4 separate regions of the Homo sapiens genome follow, and all the other regions are linked to region 1. Evidence: promoter capture Hi-C in 16 types of primary human blood cells and fetal thymus (Javierre and others, 2016). All regions are on one chromosome and are shown on one strand. The core of a region is centred on a gene start or on the middle of the fragment in contact, and the rest is flanking DNA. Distances in the headings are between cores, read along the strand shown. Region 1 holds the start of CISH (cytokine inducible SH2 containing protein). Region 2 overlaps DOCK3 (dedicator of cytokinesis 3). Region 3 overlaps DOCK3 (dedicator of cytokinesis 3). Region 4 holds the start of NPRL2 (NPR2 like, GATOR1 complex subunit).

Evidence for each region. Contacts are between HindIII fragments. The CHiCAGO score rates a contact against its expected background, and 5 or more counts as called.
Region 2: a fragment that was not itself captured here is called in contact with the fragment with the promoter of CISH in region 1 in 4 of 17 cell types (endothelial precursors, monocytes, M2 macrophages and 1 more); the score reaches 9.2 in endothelial precursors.
Region 3: a contact is called between a fragment that was not itself captured here and the fragment with the promoter of CISH in region 1, in 3 of 17 cell types (naive CD4 T cells, activated CD4 T cells and total CD8 T cells). The highest score is 6.2, in naive CD4 T cells.
Region 4: the fragment with the promoter of NPRL2 here is called in contact with the fragment with the promoter of CISH in region 1 in 10 of 17 cell types (erythroblasts, endothelial precursors, megakaryocytes and 7 more); the score reaches 14.5 in erythroblasts.

What each region holds. Positions count from the first base shown.
Region 1 is chr3:50,608,974-50,613,995 of GRCh38, reverse strand. CISH (cytokine inducible SH2 containing protein) reads left to right here and starts at 2,222. Exons shown (of 3, transcript NM_145071.4): 1 at 2,222-2,365. The coding sequence starts at 2,346. It also overlaps a transcript of MAPKAPK3 not described here. RefSeq lists enhancers at 1,704-1,793, 2,703-3,263 and a silencer at 1,874-2,353. The HindIII fragment of the contact is 4,554 bases long and covers 47-4,600 here.
Region 2 is chr3:51,098,548-51,103,569 of GRCh38, reverse strand. The region is part of intron 9 of DOCK3 (dedicator of cytokinesis 3); the gene reads right to left. Among named protein-coding and RNA genes, the nearest start is that of MANF, 280 kb to the left of the region's middle. The HindIII fragment of the contact is 2,188 bases long and covers 1,647-3,834 here.
Region 3 is chr3:51,023,779-51,028,800 of GRCh38, reverse strand. All of the region lies in intron 5 of DOCK3 (dedicator of cytokinesis 3), which reads right to left. Among named protein-coding and RNA genes, the nearest start is that of MIR4787, 350 kb to the right of the region's middle. The HindIII fragment of the contact is 2,693 bases long and covers 619-3,311 here.
Region 4 is chr3:50,348,385-50,353,406 of GRCh38, reverse strand. It overlaps NPRL2 (NPR2 like, GATOR1 complex subunit), which reads left to right and starts at 2,632. Exons shown (of 11, transcript NM_006545.5): 1 at 2,632-2,832; 2 at 3,385-3,476; 3 at 3,574-3,742; 4 at 3,913-4,021; 5 at 4,397-4,533; 6 at 4,625-4,722; 7 at 4,844-4,880; 8 at 4,997-5,022. The coding sequence starts at 2,755. It overlaps CYB561D2 (cytochrome b561 family member D2), which reads right to left and starts at 2,545. Exons shown (of 4, transcript NM_001291284.2): 1 at 2,423-2,545; 2 at 1,847-1,998; 3 at 1,361-1,398; 4 at 1-166. The coding sequence starts at 1,973. It overlaps LOC127898564 (CYB561D2-LOC101928965), which reads right to left and starts at 2,545. Exons shown (of 5, transcript NR_183066.1): 1 at 2,423-2,545; 2 at 1,847-1,998. RefSeq lists an enhancer at 2,371-2,590. The HindIII fragment of the contact is 2,178 bases long and covers 465-2,642 here.

The DNA.
Region 1 (5,022 bases), core at 973-3,472:
ACACCCATGGTGCTCTGACATGGACAGGCCTGGGGGCAGAGAAGCTTCACTGAGGACCTTAAAGCTGGATGTCTAGGAGTCGGCAGATCACCAGCACCCATAGAGGAAGTAGGAGGAAGTGTGTAGGCTCCTGGCTTAAACCATTACTTGCCAGCTGGGAGATCTAAGTTATATTGTAACCTCTCCATGCCTCAGTTTTCTCACCTGTAAAGAGGAGATAATATGTGGTAGTTGTGACAATGACATGAGGCTGCAAATTGCTGAGAGTGCTTGACACATAGTAAGTGTTCAGTTGAATAGTCATGGTGAGGGGGAAGAAGTATAGTTTTGGTAGAGAGCTTGGGATTTGGCCCCATAAGAGACCCAAGTTCAAAATTGTAACTCTGTTGCCTGGCAGCGGCAAAGTCCTTTTGTCTTCATAGTAATGAGACAGTGGACAGTTCCTACTGGCAAGTCAGTGGTCCACACAGGGGCCGCATATCAGGCTATCCAGGTATCCCAGCCCTCAAAGTGGGTTATAAGGTATCCATCCCCCCTACCCCCATTCCAAGAAAGTGGCTTCTGGCCAACTCAGGAGGGGGCTGGCAGAGTTGCACTCATGAAGCCCGGCTTCCCTTCAGGAAAGCTACAGAGAAGTGACTGCCCTGAAATCTGAAACTTAACGTTTTTTCCCCAGTTTCACAGGGTTTTGCTTTCAGGTTTCTTTTGCCCTCTGCCATTCTGGGCAGAGCAAACTGAGCCCTGTCTTCCCTGGATGCTATCGTTCAGGCCCTTCAACAAGGCCAGGGGTCTGTCATCCCTGCCCAGGATCTCAGAGCTAGACTCCTTTCTGGGGACCCTGGGGGCACACACTGGGAGGGGGATGGGGGTGGGGAGTGGACCCTGCAACCTCTCCAAATCCCACAGTTCTTCTGGCCCAAGGGTTTGGAGGAGATTCACAGACCCTACAGTCCTTCAAGATGCTCCATAGTGAATCCAGTGAACTGAAAAAAGGTGGAGAGGGTCCTGGTAGGAGCGTGGGCTTCTGATTCAGAGCTGGGACCAAGCTCTTACCCTGCCATTTCCTAGCATTTGTTCCCTGGGGCTGTCTTCTGTCCGCATAACGGGAGCAACACCAGTTGTAGAGGATCAAATGCAGCAAGTACTCCCTGTAGATAAGAGCGAGTGTTACTACTCTGCCCCCGCCATCCCGCCCCAACCTCTATCACCCTACTCCCAGATTATCTCCCTATGTTTTGAGTTGCAGGACTCTCTCTCAGCATTTTTTTTCTGGCGGGGGGTGGGGGTGGTACCAACCCAGAGTCCGGGCCATCTGGGGCTGTCTCTGCTTGCTTTCTCAAATCTGTAGTCTCTTCTCCCCTGACTGGCAGGGCCGGCCAGAAACCAGTGCCAGCCAAGACTGGATGGTCTGCCTGATTCGAAAAGTTGGGGCGTGCTTTCTCCTTCAACTCTTTCAAAGAAAACGTTCTTGTCTGGATCTTTCTGGCTGTGGTGACCGCCGGCTTGACCTCAGTGGACCCACTCATTTCTGGAACTGTCCTCTGCACCCCGCCCTGCCCTAAGTCCCGCTCCAGATCTCACCCCATGCCACCCAATCCGACACCCGACACACAGAGTCCTAGGGTCCAGGAGCGGCCGTCCCAACACGGGGCGCTTGCACACGCCGACAGACCTCCTTGGAGGAGCCGCTCGCAGGGAGGACAAGCCCGGGACTCCGCCCCCCGCCCTGCCACGAGTTCCACCGCGAGATAAGAGGGCCCTTCCCCAACGACGCAGAATGCCAGAAGGCAATCTGGGCGCGGGTTGCTGAGCCCGGGCCCCTCCTTAACTTCCCCGACCCGGTCTTTCCCCACTGATCTCTCCGACCTGCCCCTCTGGGTAGCTTCAGCCCCGGGTCCACGCGCTGCTATTGGCCCTCCCCGACCGCTCGGCTCCACCTTCAGCGTCGCGATTGGTCAGCTCGCGGGGCCCCGCCCCGTTTTCCTGGAAAGTTCTTGGAAATCTGTCAAAGTATTTCCTTTCACTGCTCAGGGCCCCAGACCCGGCGACGGGGCCCGCGCACCCCGCCCGGGCCCCACCGCTCAGCCCGCGGTTCTAGGAAGACGCTGCTTCCGGGAAGGGCTGGAACGCGGCAGACAAAGGATTAGGCAGCAGCTCGCCCCGCCCCGCTCGTCTGGCCCGCCCCCCTCGCCCTCGCAGGCGGTCCGCGCCACTGCCTCTCAGTCCCTGTCCTGCGCCCGCGCGCCCCGGGAGCCTACCCAGCACGCGCTCCGCGCCCACTGGTTCCCTCCAGCCGCCGCCGTCCAGCCGAGTCCCCACTCCGGAGTCGCCGCTGCCGCGGGGACATGGTCCTCTGCGTTCAGGGGTAAGCGCGGCTCTCTGCCCCCTTCCCGGCCACCACGAGGGGCGCACGGGAGAACAGGGGCTTCGTGCTAGCTGCCGGGCATTGGGAGGGCTTGACGGGCCAGAGGTGACTGAGCGCAGACGGACCTCAGGAGCAAGGCTCTGTGTGGGGCTGTGACACTCCCACTCCCCGCCCCCACACACTTACCTCAATTCCCACTGTGGATTGGGAAACCGGGGGCTGGCCGGCTAAAGGAGGAACTCACAGGGTGGGCTCAGCCTGGGTTCTCATTGGAGCAGATGGATGCTAACGGCACGGCGTCCCCCAAGATGTGGCCAACAATCCCAGATATTCTTCTGGGCCCAGAGCACTCTACGCTAGCCTGCCTGCTGCCCTGCCTGCTAGTAACCTTGGACCAGCCCCTGGCCCCCTCTGTCCTGGTGTCCCCTCTCCTGCCCCAGGCTAGCAAGTAGGCTCTTCTTGGGAAGCCAGCCGCAGATCCTTGCCTTTCCTCAGGCTGGCACCTGATGGTCTGCAACTCTCGGGAGGCCCTGGGTTTGGCCTGGTCCTGCTTGGGGTACCCCCACAATCGTCTCACAACCCTGTCTCAGCCCAGTCTGGGATCCCAATGTGAGAAGGACCTTGGCTCCTGCCTCTCATCTTCAAATTTCCCAGACTTGAGGTAAGGGACAGTGGAGAGGGGATGCTGATAAGACAGAGTCTTGACCTGAGCTGAGCATTCCTGGCCATCCACTCTGTCCTGAACCTCAGCAACCCCTTCAACCAAAGGGTCTGATGCTGGCCATGGTGATGTGACAGGAGCTCAGGAAGCTCCAAGGAGAGAGGAAGAAGGTATAAATGGGTGTTCTGCACTCAGGGAGGACTGGGTGGCTGTGCTTATCGCAACTGGCCTGGTGCCAAGTGAGGGAGGGTGGAAGGTGAGGCCAAGGAAGAGGACATGGAGGTGCTGGGAAGACTACTTCTCCCTTGCTGTCTCCAGCAAGTTCCTTCCTCCTGTCTGCATTCTGGGACTCCTGAATACCTGCCCCACCACTGCCTTCCACCCCAGGAGCCTCCCCCTGCATTCCGGGGTCCCATAGCCTCTTTCACTTTTTACCCTAGGTGAGCACCCCCTTGTAAGCTCAGGGCTACTGTTGGGTGTCAGGGAACAAAGTTTTAGACTGCTGCGCTCCAAAGCGGGCACACACATGTACCTAGAACACACCAGCCACTGTCCCCACCATGATGATGACACAGCCATGGACACACCCCTGCCCAGGTACACACTCACCAGGAGCTTGTGGTGATCAACACAGCTATTCATACACCCAGCTACCACATCAGCCCCAAAGGTGCCCACACCTACATGTGGGATCTGAGGACCGGCTAAGCTATCTGGACGTGGCCACCCACAGAGGTTCCAGCCTGACTGGCTAGCCACCAACCATGCTCCTGGGAAGGTAGCTCTGGGCCCCAGCAAGCAGGTCATCTCAAAATTTGGCCTCCAGCTCTCCAAGAGGGATTTCCAAGATCCCACAGTACAGCCAGGGTAGGTGTGGAAAAGTTTTTGTCAGGCTGTGGTGTGCCAGAGTTGTGTGGCCCTTTCTCACTGTGAGTGGTCATAGGGCCATGATTTGTTAGAACCTAGAGGGTCACCTATAACCTACACAGGAGTCAGGTCTGGCTCCTGCCACCAGCTCCTGCCTGCGCCTTCCTGCCTCACAAGCAATACTGGCGCTGTTTGCCCATGCTGTCCTCTCTACCTGGGGTCCCTTCCCCCAGCTCCTTCCTTTGGCCTGGAAGACACAGCTCAGGAGCAAGCAGACCCTGACTCCCCCGTGACACCTGCAGTTTTATGACTTTGCATTATAATTACTCTTAGTGTCATCTTCCCCAGCCAGTCTGGTTCTCCTTGAGGGCAAGGCCATGGTTTCATTATGGCGGTGTCCTGAGGCCCAGCCAGGGACTAGACCCAGAACTAAGGCTTGGAGATGTATTTTGCAAGGAGTGAGGGAGGAGCAGCTGTCTTCCTGGGGAAGTAGAGCCAGTCCCTGCTGCCCTCCCAAGGAGGAAGCCCTAGTATCACCCTGCTGGGTGGGCTTCCCCTAGGAGAAAGCTGCTACTCAGATTTTGGTCGGCTCAGTTCCCCCAACCCCAGCCATCCAAGAATATGGTGTTACTGAACCTCTCAGTGCATGGGTTGGTGGGACCCTTTATTGCGGAAAAGGGAAACTGAAGCCCAGTGAAGAGCAAGCTTTGTACAAGATCGTAGAGCCTGGTAGGGCTGGCTTGCCAGGGTGGGAACTGGAGTGTGGATTAGGTCCCTGCCCTTGGTGGGAGCTCATACTGACAGGAGGTGAGACTTGCCAGTGCCTTTAGAGGCCACTGTCCACCCCAGACCCTCCACTGGGAGAAGCAGAGGCCAGGATAGGCTGACTTGTATGGGTAGGGGATTATTTCAGTCTCTAAGTCCTGGCCAGTGTGGACCTAGGTCCCTCTGAGAGACACTCCTATCCATGGGGAGGTAGCGTGTGACCTCAGGCAGCCTACCATAATCCTGGGGCTTCTCTGGAGGACCCCACACAGATCTATCATAGGATAAATCTACTTGTCTGTCGTAGATCTATCTCAACTAGGACCATTCATCAGTGGGCCATTTAATCAGCCCACTTCAGCCA
Region 2 (5,022 bases), core at 1,491-3,990, 490 kb before region 1:
CTATTGCACATGGCTTAAGTATCTTGGGAGTAGCTTATCAATTTTTTGAGGGTAGATTTATTAGAAATGACAGAAAGTAATTCAGGGCTAAGTTTGGTAAAGGTAGATAATCAAGAAAGGTAAAATGATTTTTGTTGAATAAACAGGACGACAATAAGGCTCATTTTCCTGTGCCATTTATAAACTAGCTTTGCTTTCACTTTTTGAGATGCTAGAATTTATCTCTTCTGTTCTATTCCCTTTTTTGTGCATGAGCATGTCACCTACTTTGCTCTGTAGTCTCATTGTAGCACAGGCTCTCATTGTAGCACAGCTCTTGGGCCTGCACCACCATTGGTTTAGTACATCTGCTATATATTTCTCTCCATTCTATGTCTTGGGGTGCTGAAATATTTATATTTTCCATTAGAGCCCCTTGAAAGAAAAAGATATCGTTTTATATATTTAGGTTCAAAACTTAATAGCAACAAGCAGGTAGACATTTAATAAAGAGTTTTACAATTTTGATTTGAAGAGTCCATATAAAGTGTATTGTGGCTTTCCTGCAGTGGGAGGGGAATAGTAGTTTTAATGACAATTGAGTTCAAGGTAAACAACTGGCAGAATCTATTTCCAAGGGAGTCTCTGTTCTAAATGTGCTCAGAGGGAAACATATTTGGAGCATTCCTTCTCAGAAACCAGCAGCCATATCTCTAGATGCCATTAGAAGTTTACACATCAACAAAATATTTTCCCTTTTCTAACCAAGAACTGATTTTTAAAAACTCATAATTGTATATATTTTATATTTGAAATTCTAAATTTCTATTTTTCTCTCATACCATTTAACCTTTTCTAATGAGTCATAATTATTGGACTCCTGGTTCCCATGCACTGCAAAGGAGCCATCTCGTCTCAGGGCTTCCTTTTGTTTGTGCTATTTCTACAACACTATTTCTTCTGTTCTTTTGTAGCTGATTTCTAGTTACCCTAACAACAGCCACACAGCTTACTCCATGGACAGCAAGTATACATATATGTCACTCAATTTTCCATTCTCTCTCATGAGTCTCCAGACTTTGTTTTTAAACATCATTTAGCACATTCCTCAAAATATAAACCCTGATATACTGATCCAGACTTTGTTTTTAAACACCATTTAGCACATTCCTCAAAATACAAATCCTGACATACTGATTGATTTGCTGACAGAATCCAGTACCTTGTGTTCTTCACTTCCATGTGAAGATTAAAATATCCAGTTTTTAAAATCTTGCTCTGTCTTGAGATGATCTTTAATAAATCCTGATCTACAGCCAGGCAGATATTTTACATTGCTTTGTAAATGTAAAAGTAGAGAAAATAATCCTCAGTTTATGAATAAATGCTCTGGCTCTGACAGAAACACCTCCGGTCACTAGAAGTCTGTGTCCAGAGACCCTCAATGATTGTAACTCCAAAGACACCAGCCACAGGCCTTACAGTTGAGCTGTTTCTCCAAGTACCACGTTTTCAGATAAACACAAATTAGTTAAAATTTCCCCAGCTAAATATATTTTAATGACAACAAAACTTTTTAAAAGAAGTTCAAGAAAGGTAACAAACTTCAAGCTTGTATTTTCTTTGATTCCTTCATATTTTCCTTTATCCCCAACTCTGGAAAAGCTTTAGTGGTACTTTGCAAATGTGAGATTTAGCCAAGTGGATGCTGGGATCAGAGGGGAAGTGACTGTCTGTTTAAATCATGCTTTCTGTGAGCCTGGCTTTGAGGCAGGAGTAGAAATGGGAGAAAGCCTAGAATGCCTTAATCTGAATTCAGCTGGATTCTACACGAAGCCTTTTTTGCAACTATAGATTTAATGCTGGAACTCCATCTTGAGAGTTTATAATAAGTCATTTGTTCATTTGATAAATGTTACCAGCTCATAGCAGGCTCTGTAACATTTTTGCTTACATTAGTAATATTCTAAGGAAAAGGAACAGAGGGAGGAATTAGTGTGTACATATTATGGCTATTTTCTAGTTTTCACTGTAAGTTGAAAAACATCTTCAAAAGTTTACCACCACTTTGTTCACAATGGAGTATCATTCTACCACAAGTTATCTATTTTCCTTTTCAGCATCCTGATGATCTCTACCGCCTTGCAATTTTCTAAGAAAGACTAAGCCGAGGCCGGGCGCGGTGGCTCACGCCTGTAATCCCAGAACTTTGGGAGGCCGAGGCAGGTGGATCATGAGGTCAGGAGATCGAGACCATCCTGGCTAACAAGGTGAAACCCTGTCTCTACTAAAAATACAAAAAATTAGCCGGGCGCGGTGGCGGGCGCCTGTAGTCCCAGCTACTCGGGAGGCTGAGGCAGGAGAATGGCGTGAACCCGGGAAGCGGAGCTTGCAGTGAGCCGAGATTGCGCCACTGCAGTCCGCAGTCCGGCCTGGGCGACAGAGTGAGACTCCGTCTCAAAAAAAAAAAAAAAAAAGAAAGACTAAGCCGAGCATGGTAGCTCATGCCCATAATCCCAGCATTTTGGGAGGCAGAGGTGGGAGAATCGCTTGAGGCCAAGAGTTCGAGATCAGTCTGGGCAACATAGCAAGATGTCATCTCTACAAAAAAAAAAAAATTTTTTTTTAATTAGCCAGGCGTGGTGGCGTGCACCTGTAGTCCAAGCTATTCAGCAGGCTGAGGCAGGAGAATCACTTGAGCCCAGGAAACTGAGGCTGCAGTGAGCCATGATTGTGCCATTGTACTCCAGCCTGAGCAACAGGGCAAGATCCTATCTCAAAAAAAAAAAAAAGATAAATTAAATTTAGCTATTGCTTTGTTGAAGTAACTAATTTTTCTGGTTATCCCATAACTTTGGATTTTATCCTGGACCTTGTAAATGTTACATTGTAGAGAATCTGAATTCTGCTATATTCTGAAGAGAATTAGTATTTTTGTTTTAATGGTGAATTAACTTGATTAGACTTAATCTATAATCTCCATTTCTCCTGTGGTGGGTCAAATCACAGTTTTCTTTTAGCCTTTGTTGCTAGCTGCTTTGCGTCTGCCTTGGATACGCATGGTTCAGAGGTGAGCCAGTGACATGGGTAGAGCTCATACATAGAATTTGAGATTCCCATTTCCTGCTCTCTTCTCTCCAGAACTCCCTCTGGTGGCCATACTTGCCCCAGGTTCCATCTCTTGGTTCCTCAGGCTAAAAATATGGCAGGCTTTCTAATGGAGTTTCAGACACTCTATACTATGCTAGGACTACAGCTCACTTTCAGATCAAAACCACAAAAAACAGAAAATTCACCTCATGTTGATCTTTTTCTCCAACTTTTTACTGCCTTACAATATCTGCCTGCTTTATTCATTTGGCAGCACCGTCAGGTAGTTTTTGGATTTTGCTCAGTGTTAACTGTAGGAGGGCCAGACTGTCAGGGGCTTACTCCACCATACCAGAAACAAAATAAGCACAGCTTTACCTTTAGAAGATAGCCAGAATCCAAGCCACCATCGTCTGTCATCTGGTCACTGTAAAGGCTTTCTTTCTTTCTTTATCTAGTTTTTTTTATTTATCCTTAAGTAAATAAGGGTGACATGGCTGCCAGTAATTTGATCCCTTGGCTCCACCTCATTAATTTAGAAATCATTTAGAGATCAAAGGATGAGAGGATGGGACAAATTAAGTCTCTTCCCTGGAAGGTAGCCCCACAGTAGGTGTACCTTCTCAGTAAGGCCTACCCTGACAATCTTATTTAGCACAGCAAATCTCCCTTATGCTTTACTTTTTCTATTCCATAACACTTATCCCTTCAAATATGATACAATTTACTTATTTCTATTTACTGTCTGTCCCTACTATGTAAGCTTCATGAGAACATGGATTTTTGTGTGTTTTATCCACTGCCATATTACTAGAGCCTATAACAGCACAAGCACATAGCAGGTGTAAAAATAAACATTTGGTGCATAAATAAATGACTTTACCAAACACTGTAACTTCTACCTCTGATCTCACTTAATTCTCCACATTCCTCTCCTCACAGAGGATTTTTTTGATATGTGAGACGCATCAGTCATTCTGCTCTACTTTGTCCTACGTATTTTTAGGCAGAGAAGAAGTCAAATTTCTTGTAAACAATGTGAAACTTTCTAAAGAACCTGATCTTTTCTTTCACTGTTGTTATCCAGACTCTGTAGGATGATACATTAAAAATTTTCCACAGCCTAACAGTTAGACTCAGAACATAATGAAGGATGGCATATACAGAACAGCAGTTTCTGATCTTATTTTCAGATGAAAAAGGCAGGTTTAACCACAGGCCAAAGTATATATCTAAAGTAAAAGTTTCACTGTGTCTATCTCTCAAAAGACTTTCACTTTAATGCTTCCGAGTAAGAGCTGATGTGTTGGGCATATATGTAGAAGCATGTCAAGACAGTCTGACCACTAGTATGAAATATATTTAGCTTTAAACCCTATTTGAATTCATTCTGTCTATATTTTCAGTTTTGAGTTATGCAACAAAATATACTGATGAAAAACTTAGCAGGGCAACAGGATTATAAAGTTTCACTTAAACATCCATTTGTTGGCCTCCTCATCCATAGGGCACAGAAATCATTAGCTTTCTTTGTGGATGTGTGAGAAAGAGAAAGAAAAAGAGAGAATACTATTAATTTCTCTAGCCCCTCGTAATTTTTAGGGAATTTAAGTATACTGACAATGACAGACCAGAGAGCAGGGTAGAAAAAGAAAGTGATGTTAACAGTTACCAGAGACAAGGTACCAGCTCCTCTCTTATTTCTGCTGGAACTCACAGAAAATCTTTGCGAAAATGTTGGTTAGTGAGCTGGAGTCTATGTCCTGGACCAAGTTAAGACAGGCTAGACTATACGATGGGGCCTAGGGTCGAAGGACCAAGACTAAATTGCAGGTCTATTAGTGGACTGCCTAAATCCTGCAGATAAGCTCTAGCTGCATTACATACATAACCTCTTTTGCAGAGGGAAACAAAATTGTTTGCTTTAATAAAAAAGTGCTCGCCCATCATTTT
Region 3 (5,022 bases), core at 716-3,215, 420 kb before region 1:
GACAACATAGCTATATTAAAAAAAGAACCAAACAGAACTGGAATTTAAAATTTCACTACAGGAATTTCAAAATGCATTGGAAACCTTAACAACAGACTAGACCAATTAGAAGAAAGAATTTCACAGCTTGAAGACCAGTCTTTGAGTCAACCCACTCAGACAAAAATCAAAGAAAAAACAATTTAAAAAAACAAAACCTTCAAGAAATATGGGATTATGTAAAGCAACCAAGCCCATGACTTATTTTCATTTCTGAGAGAAAAAAACAGAAAGTAAGCAATTTAGAAAACGTATTTGAGGGTATAATTCAGAAAAATTTCCCCAATCTTGCTAGAGGTTGACATGCAGCTACAAGAAATTAAGAGAACACCTGCAAGATACACAAGACAAACATCCCAAAGTTACACAGTATTCTGATTATCCAAGATCAACGTGAAAAAAAAAATCTTAAAACTAGCTAGAAAAAAGGGCTAAATTATCTATAAAAGGAATTCCACCAGACAAACAGCAGACTTCTCAGCAGAAACCTTATAAGCCAGAAGAGATTGGGGGCCTATTTTTAGCATTCTTAAAGAAAAAACATGCCAGCCAAGATTTCATGTATCACTAAGTTAAGCTTCATAGGAGAAATACAATCCTTCCTAGAAAAGCAAACGTTAAGAAAATTCATCACCACCAGTCTAGCCCGACAAGAAATGCTCGAGAGCTCTAAACATGAAAATAAAGAACAATACTTGCTACACAAAAGCACAAAAAGGTACAAAACCCACAGACCCTATACAGCAACTACCATTCCAGCCTACAAAGTAACTAGCTAACAACACTATGACAGAAACAAAATCTCATATATCAATATCAAAGTTGAACCTACACAGCCTAAATGCTCCACTTAAAAGATACAGAGTGGCAAATTGGATGAAAAAAAAAATGAGATCCAACTTTCTACTGCATTCAAGAGACTCATGTCTCATGTAATGACACCCATAGGCTCAATGTAAAGAGATAAAGATCATGCAAATGAAAAATAAAAAAAGGGGAAGGGGGTGCTATTCCTATATCAGATACAACAGATGTTAAACCAAAGACAATAAAAAGGACAAAGAAGGGCATTACATAATGATAAAGGGTTAAATTCATCAAGAAGAGTTAACTATCCTAAATATATATGCACCCAACAACAAAGCACCCAGATTTATAAAACAATTACAACTAGACCTAAGAAAACAGCCACACAGCCACACAATAATAGTGGGAGACTTCAAAACCCCATTGACAGAATTAGATAATCATCAAGGCAAAAAACTAACAAAGAAATTCTGGACTTAAATTGGATACTTAACCAATAGACATCTACAGAATACCCCACCTAAAATCCACAGAATACAGTTTGCTCATCTATACATAGAACATACTCTAAGATTGACCACATGCTCAGCCAAAAAGCTAGTCTCTATAAATTGAAAAAAAAAATCAAAGGCATACTAAGCATCTTCTTGGACCACAGTTGAATAAAATTAGAAATCGATACCAAGAGGAACTCTCAAAACCACACAAATACATGGGAACTAAATGAGTTGCTTCTGGACAACTTTTGCGTAAAAAACAAAATTAGGCAGAAACAAAAAAAAATTATTTCAAACAAATAGAAACACAACACACCAAAACCTCTCAGATGCAGCAAAAACAGTGCTAAATGGAGTTTATACTCCTAAATGCCTACATCAAGAAGATAGAAAGATCTCAAATTAACAACCTAGTGCCACAGCTAAAAGAACTAGAAATATAATAACTAAATAAAAATCTAGCAGAAGAAAAGAAATACCTAAAATCAGAGAACTGAACAAAATAGCAACCAACAAAACCATACAAAGGATCAAAAAGAAATTTGGTTCTTTGAAAAAAAAAGATTGATAGACTGCTAGCTAGATTAACAAAGAAAAAAGAGAAAATCCAAATAAGCACAATCCAAAATAATAAAACTGATGCCACATAAATACAAAAGATTCCCAGAGATAACTGCAAAAATCTCTATGTGCACAAACTAGAAAATCTAGAGGAAATGGATAAATTCCTGTAAACACACAGCATCCCAAGACTGAACCAGGAAGAAATTGAAACCATGAACAAATCAATAATAAGTTATGAAACTGAATCAGTGATAAAAAGCCTAGCAACCAACAAAAGCCTTAGACCAGATGGATTCACAGTTGAATCCTACCAGATACACAAAAAAAGAGCTGGTACCAATCATACTGAAACTACTTCAAGAAAATTGAGGAGAAGGAATGCCTCCCCAACTCATTCTATGAAACCAGTATCATCTTGATACCCAAAGCTGACAAGGACACAATAAAAAAAAAAAAAAAACTACAGGCCAATATCCCTGATAAACATAGATGCAAAACTTCTCAACAAAATACTAGCAAACCAAATTCAGCTGCAGATCAAAAGATAATTCATCATGATCAAATGGGCTTTATTCCTGAGATGCAAGGATGGTAAACATATACAAGTCAATAAATGTGATTCACCACATCAATGGAACTAAAAACAAAAAAAAACATATGACCATCTCAATAGACTCAGAAAAACCATTCAATAAAATCCAACGTCACTTCATAATACAAACCCTCATTTTTTCATTTTTTATTTTTTTCAAAATGGCAGATTGGAGGCAGTGTTAGCTTGCCTCTCCCACTTGGAAGGTCAGAATAGTGTGTAGAGATTCACACTGTGAATTTTTTTTTTTAAAGCAAGAACCAACACAGGAACTTAATAGAAAAATCAAAAGAATCTACAGACCCTTTGAAACAAATGGCAGGCTGCAGCCTACTCCATGAGACAGGTGAAAAACTAAGTTCTCAGAGTGTGAGAAGGGGAGAGTCTGCCTCTGAGTACATCCTCACTGGGGAATCTGAAAATTCAGGCCATGGAAGAAGACCTTAAACTCTACCAAGAGCTGGATCAAATTTAGAAAGTGGCATAAAATATAAAAGTAGAAGCAACAGTGGGAAGGGGCTTGCAGGCATTCCCAGTCTCCAGTGTGAACCAAGGGAAGTGATTCCTGACTATATCTCACAGGAGCCCTTGGGGAAGTCGGTCAACGAGGGAGAATTCACAGGGTAAATGCAGCTCCCAACTGAATTTTGTGATATAATCTCAAGAGAGGACAAACACCCCATGAACAGAACCTGGGGAATGAGCAGGAAGTGAGCTGCAGACAGGAGTGCAGAAGCTGGGCACGTGACTTTGCAGAAAGACGGGGAGGGGTGCGGCCTGAAAGCTGTGGTTGCTATCTCTGTGGGGAAGCTTATAGGCTGGGGCAGGTCTGAATTCTGTGTGCAGACTGCCTAGATCTAAACCAGGTGCTGTCACCAGAGCACCGCAGGAGTGACACCGACCTTGAAAACGATGTGGGAACTAGGTAAGGCTCACTGCTGCCCACTACTCCCCACTCCTTTTGTAAACTCCTCTGTGCAGCAGAGGCAGTTATACTCCCCTGTGAAACATTACCCCAGCGACCTGAGAACCACCTTGGTCTCTCACAGGGGCCTTAGCCTGCCCTGCACAAGGAGAATCAGAGCTCAGGCCCACCTAACCCTGACCCAACCTGGTGGTATTTCTCCACCTGCCCTGGTAACTTAATACAAAAGACATAAACTTTTAGGAGACTTGTAGCCCCACCCATCACCTAAGAAACCAGAATACTTCCCCTAGGCAACTTAGGGCAAGCTCAAATCCCACTGTTATTACGGCAGCTGGTGCTCTTTTGAAAGCAACACCTCCTGGCTGGAGGCCAACCAACACAGATCTTGACACCATCTCTAGATAGAATAACACTGTGCCCAAGAAGGAGAAAACAGCTGCATGACCTCGGCAATCATCACTGCCTGCAACACCCTGGCAAACCAAAGGTCCTGAGTCTGTCCACGTGACAAGTTCACTACTAGTATTACCAGCATTCAAGAAAGGCAGCACACTAAGCCTATCTACAACCAAGGAATCTCAGAGTCTATGTCACATCACTGGATCCCTTGCAGACATTCCCCAATTCAGGGAACAATTCAGGATGACTGCAGCCCCACAGGAGGAGCACTGCCCAGATGCAGGCTTGCACAAAAGGCAGAATCACAATTCCTCCCTACATGGAACATCAATATTCCTAAAGAAGAGGTGCCTGTCTGATCTGAACAGCCAGAACACTGGGAAAACAGTAAAGCTGTGAGGTGGAAAGCTTTTCTGCTGGCCTAGCAGGGAAGCTGAGGTAGCTCTCACCCTTCACCCTGATAAAATCTCAGAACATCTAATTGAGATCTACCCCTGACCCCCCAGTTACCTTCATCAAGGCTGGGACCTCTGCCCACCATTGGGTATTACATCTACCAACTTGCTTTAGCTACAACCAGTGACTACCCAGGGATACATCCACAACTGGCCTAAAGCCTGAATCATCAACTCAGTTAATAAAATACTGGGGAAAAAATTGAATAAATAAATAAACCATACACCATGAGAGAATGAGATAAGCTTTAAGGAATCCCTGCCATTCCAACCCAATAGGAGACAGTGAACTGGCCTACACACCAAGTACATAATAACTATTACAACCATCATATGGGAAAGCCATTGCACAAAGACTTTCTATAACAAAGGAACTCATACAGAGTCTTAACCAAGCCCCAAGAATCAAATTAGGCTAAAATAATTTACTACAAACATTGAAGTCAGACCCTTAAAGTAAAAAAAACCATTAAGAAAACACAGTCTAGTAAAAAATAAATTCAGTAACAATTTGAAAAAATAGGCTATCCAAATTAGAAATAAATCCAGAAATGTAATTCTGGTAATATGACAAAACAGGGTTCCATAAAACCCCCAAAATGTCACAATAGCTCTCCAGATATGAATCCAAATGAAGATAAAATATTTGAAATGAGACAAAAATAATTCAGAAGGTTGATTATCAAGCTACTCAAGGAAATACAAGAGAAAGGTGAAAACCAACAAAAATGAATTAAAAAA
Region 4 (5,022 bases), core at 1,383-3,882, 260 kb after region 1:
GCTGCTCTTTGTGGAGGATGACAAGGCCGAGGCCCAGCAGTGCACACAGCAGGGCCAGCAGCTGCAGCACCCAGTGGCAGCGTGCTCGGCCTTTCCGTGAGAGGGAGTGCAGCAGCGAACTCTCAGGAGAAAACACCAGTAGTGCCTCGGTCATCAGGAAGGAGAACTGAGGAAACAGGGGATGGGAAGCTCAAGTGAGGGTGCTGCCCCAGAAGAGGAGAAGAGGGCTTTATGTAACCCTTAGCTGCCAGTGAGTCTGGGCTGATTCCCCTTTTTCTTTCTCTCCCCACTGACAAGACTATCCATTTGGTGGGGCAAGAGTGGAAAACCCCATCTGGGATGATATATGTGCCCTGAATAATCTCCACACTTCCTCCTAGGTGCCAGTCTGAAATGTCATCTGTCGTATGTTACCAAGCAAACACAGGGTTTGAGATGTGGCAGTTATAAATGATTCACAAGCTTTGTTTCCCTAACGTGGGGCTGGATACAATTTCTTGGCAAGAGCTGGCCACATGGGTGCACTGTTTCAGGGAAAGTTAGGTGCATCACCAGAAATTAAAGTAAAAAGGGACAGAGGTACATCCAAATGCAATGTCTCAGCTTTCTGCCTAGAGGTGGGTGAAGCCTCATTGTGCTTAGACAAATCTTACCCATTTGACCTGGGTCCTGGGTCTTCATTACTCTGATTCAAGTCTCTTTTTTTTTTTTTTTTTTTTTTTGGAGATAGTCTCTCTCTGTCACCCAGGCTGGAGTGCAGTGGCCTGATCTCGGCTCACTGCAATCTCCGCCTTCCGGGTTCAAGCAATTCTCCTGCCTCAGGCTCCTGAGTAACTGGGATTACAGGCACCTGCCACCACACCCAGCTAATTTTTGGTTTTTTGGGGGGTTTTTTTGTTTTTGGGTTTTTTTTTTTTTTTGGGACAGAGCCTCGCTCTGTCGCCTAGGTTAGAGGTTAGAGTGCAGTGGCGCAATCTTGGCTCACTGCAACCTCCGTCTCCTGGGTTCATGCGATTCTCCTGCCTCAGCCTCCCGAGTAGCTGGGACTACAGGCGCGTGCCACCATGCCCGGCTAATTTTTTGTATTTTTAGTAGAGACGGGGTTTCACCATGTTGGCCAAGATGGTCTCGATCTCCTGACCTCAGGTGATGTGCCCGCCTCGGCCTCTAAGTGCTGGGATTACAGGCATGAGCCACCGTGCCCAGCCTCAAGTCTGAAATATATACCATGGGCAGGAGTAGTTGGAGCATGCAACTCTTCCAAACAGATATTAAATGTGGACAAAGATTCAGAGGCTGCCAGGGCCACCAACCATGCCCATGCTCCCACCCCTAAGAACTGCCCAGGCCCACTACTTACAGCCAAAGACATAAGCACCGGGTGCCAGGAGAACAGGCCTGGAATGAGAAGAGGAGGCCTCATGGGGCTGAGGCAAGAAGAAACCAGCCATACCAATCCTTAAGGGTTGAGGAATACCAGCAGCCCATCACCCAAGGAGGTGCTGCCAAACTGTGAGCCCCTTCTTGCTCTGCAACAAGCTGACCCCACACCTATCCTCTCTTCCTGGCCTCTTCCTGGATCAGAGGCCATGCTTTGCCACTCCTCTGGCAGTCCTCCCTCCTTCCCTTACACCTCCTGAGAGGCAGCCAAATGGAGCACCCAGAGAAGGAAAGACAAACCAGGAATTCTGTGTGCCCTGGCCATACCTACCTGCTCCACCTCACTCATCGCTCCAGCACAGAATTCCCTCAACCAGCCAGGCCTGTTCCCGGAAGTCCCACTGCCCTTCCTCCCCAGGAACAGTGGCCCTTCCCTTCCCAGAAGTCAGCTATGAATTCTACTTACTGGAGCCAGGCCTGGCAAGCACAGCCACAAAGATGGTAAAGCCCAGGGCCACAAGGTGGGCGGCAGCGCCAGAAGCAGTACGCAGAGCTCGGTAGATGTGTGACTCGGTCTCCGCAGAAAGGGCCATCGTCAGCCGTGCTAGTGGTTGTAGCCTGAAAGCATAGTAGCGTGGGCCAGGATCTCAGGTGCCCACTGTTCACTCCTCACTGGAGAAAAGGCTGCAAGGCAGGAATGCCACCCTCTTCCAATAAGTTATGGTAGGAAAGAACAGTACCAAGACCAGCACCAGGAATGGTCACAACATGCCAGTCGACGGCCGGCGGCCTGTCAACGTGTACCCATGTCTGAACTGGTACCAATCGCTGGCCCGCCTTCCAGGTAGGAGGCGCAAAGCCATGTAAGACTACAAATCCCAGCGTGTACCACGCCGTCGCCGGCAGTAGAGCCAGCTGGGAGGGCGCGGAGCACTATGGAAATTGTAGTTCCCTGCTGCGGTCCCAGTTACAGCGTGAATCCCTTAGCGCACCGCCTCCCCAAGTGCTGCCAGCATGCTGCCCCTCCACGCTAGGGACTTGCCTGCCTCTGCCGCAGCGCAGATCTGATGCGGTGGTTTCCTCCAAAGAAAGCGGGATACTCCGGGCCCTGCCGCGCGCACCGCCGCTCCGTCACGGAGCCGCTTTACTTCCGGGTGCGACGTCTACCCACCCAGGACTTCCTGGGACGAGCCGTCCCCCGCCCCAGCCACGCCTCTGAGTCGCGCTGCGCAGGCGCCATTGGGCAGAGGGATTGGCAAGCTTGCGTGCCCCAGCGACACAGGCCTCGAGGCTGTCTCTGACAAGTGTTCACAGGAGGTGGGGACGCCTCTGCGCGAGGAACGAGGAGCTACGGGCCTGGGCCCGGTTATTGCCATGGGCAGCGGCTGCCGCATCGAATGCATATTCTTCAGCGAGTTCCACCCCACGCTGGGACCCAAGATCACCTATCAGGTGCCACCCGGGCTCGCGGGACTGGGCGGGAAGAGGGACGTTCTCGAGAGCTCAACTGGCTGCCTGAAGGCAGTAGTTTCCCGTGCTGCACGCAGGCATGCTGCTTCATTCGCAGACAACTGTGAGGCTAGAGGATAGTCAGACCCAGGCCCCCGGCTCCCAATGTGGCAGGGAAGACATACGTCACATTGGCAGTGTTTGTAGGATATCGGGCTGTAGGGATCCGGTTGGGGGGTTCCAGGTCCCACAGAAGGTGAGTTGGGTGACCCATGAGTATCCCTGAACTGAGTGAAGAGTAAATGATGCATAGGAAGTTTAGGTAAGGCAGGAGAAAGTGTTCCAGGTAGAGGGAACAGCATATGCAGAAGCCAGGAAGGAGGTGAGATCATAGCGTATGTTTGGAAACAGAAAGAAGTAATAGGCCTGAGTGGATGGGAGAGAGGGGAACGCTGGAGAAGAGGACTTGGGCTTGGGGGGCATGAGGAGGTCACCATTTGTACTACACCCAGTACAGATGTCCACTGAGGGGCCCATTGCCACTCCCCTCCCCAGGTCCCTGAAGACTTCATCTCCCGAGAGCTGTTTGACACAGTCCAAGTGTACATCATCACCAAGCCAGAGCTGCAGAACAAGCTTATCACTGTGTGAGACCCTAGCTCGGGGTGAGCGGTGGGTGGCAGGGGTTGTCCCAGGAGGAGGAAGGGACAGGCTTGGGGGCCTGACTGTGTTCCAATTATCCAGCACAGCTATGGAAAAGAAGCTGATCGGCTGTCCTGTGTGCATCGAACACAAGAAGTACAGCCGCAATGCTCTCCTCTTCAACCTGGGCTTCGTGTGTGATGCCCAGGCCAAGACCTGCGCCCTCGAGCCCATTGTTAAAAAGCTGGCTGGCTATCTGACCACACTAGAGGTCTGCAATGAGATGGGCTTGGGTTTACCGACAGGCAGAGTTGGGGAAGGTGTTCCCATGTCTCCAAAGTCCCCCAAACCTGGGACCCTGCAAACCAGCTCAGGACTCAGGGCAGCCAACCAGCCAGGGGTCCTGGGATGTGCCCACCATGCTTTCCATGCTCTGTCTAGCTAGAGAGCAGCTTCGTGTCCATGGAGGAGAGCAAGCAGAAGTTGGTGCCCATCATGACCATCTTGCTGGAGGAGCTAAATGCCTCAGGCCGGTGCACTCTGCCCATTGGTATGGCCAGCCTCTGCAAGGACAGCAGAGGGGTAGAGGAGAGATGGGAAAGTGAACCCAGCTAGTCAGGGAGAAGGGCAAGACTCATGAACACATTGGTGGGCAGGAAATAGCCATGGGCTGAGGTGCCCATGTCCAGGGTCCAATGCATGATGGAGCTGGGACTGGGGGTAGGGGGAAAGCAGAGCTCTCCAGCTCTGCCCCTTGGGCAATTCCTTCCCCTTTGTGGGCCTCCGTTTCTCACTCCATAAAAAGAGAAAGATTAGCCCTACCCAGAGGCACCTGCTTGCCCCAAGGGATGCTGGGAGGCCTGGATGGTAATTGAGGACCTCTTGGAAGAAGTGGCACTGAGGATATGGATGGGGCCCCCTGCAGATGAGTCCAACACCATCCACTTGAAGGTGATTGAGCAGCGGCCAGACCCTCCGGTGGCCCAGGAGTATGATGTACCTGTCTTTACCAAAGACAAGGAGGATTTCTTCAACTCACAGTGGGACCTCACTACACAACAAGTATGCCATCCCTCCCTGGGTATCATCACCTGGGGCTGGCCACAGCCCTGGCCTCATCCTGTTTCTTCTGACCTTGTCCCACTCTGCCCAGATCCTGCCCTACATTGATGGGTTCCGCCACATCCAGAAGATTTCAGCAGAGGCAGATGTGGAGCTCAACCTGGTGCGCATTGCTATCCAGAACCTGCTGTGAGTGGGCCTACAGTCATACCTGGGACAAGGTCACCAGCCAGGGAAGACCTCAGGGGCCCTGGGTGTGAGGGTTGGGAAGGCATGGTCCTCAGAAGCTGAGCACAGCTCTCTCTCTCAGGTACTACGGCGTTGTGACACTGGTGTCCATCCTCCAGGTAGGTGAGTTGGGTTTGGTTAAGTGGAGAGTGGATCATGTGGCTGGACCAGACCAGGGCTGTGTCAGCTTCCCAAGCCCCTCACTCAGGCCCCTATGCCTTCTGCTACCCTCTAGTACTCCAATGTATACTGCCCAACGCC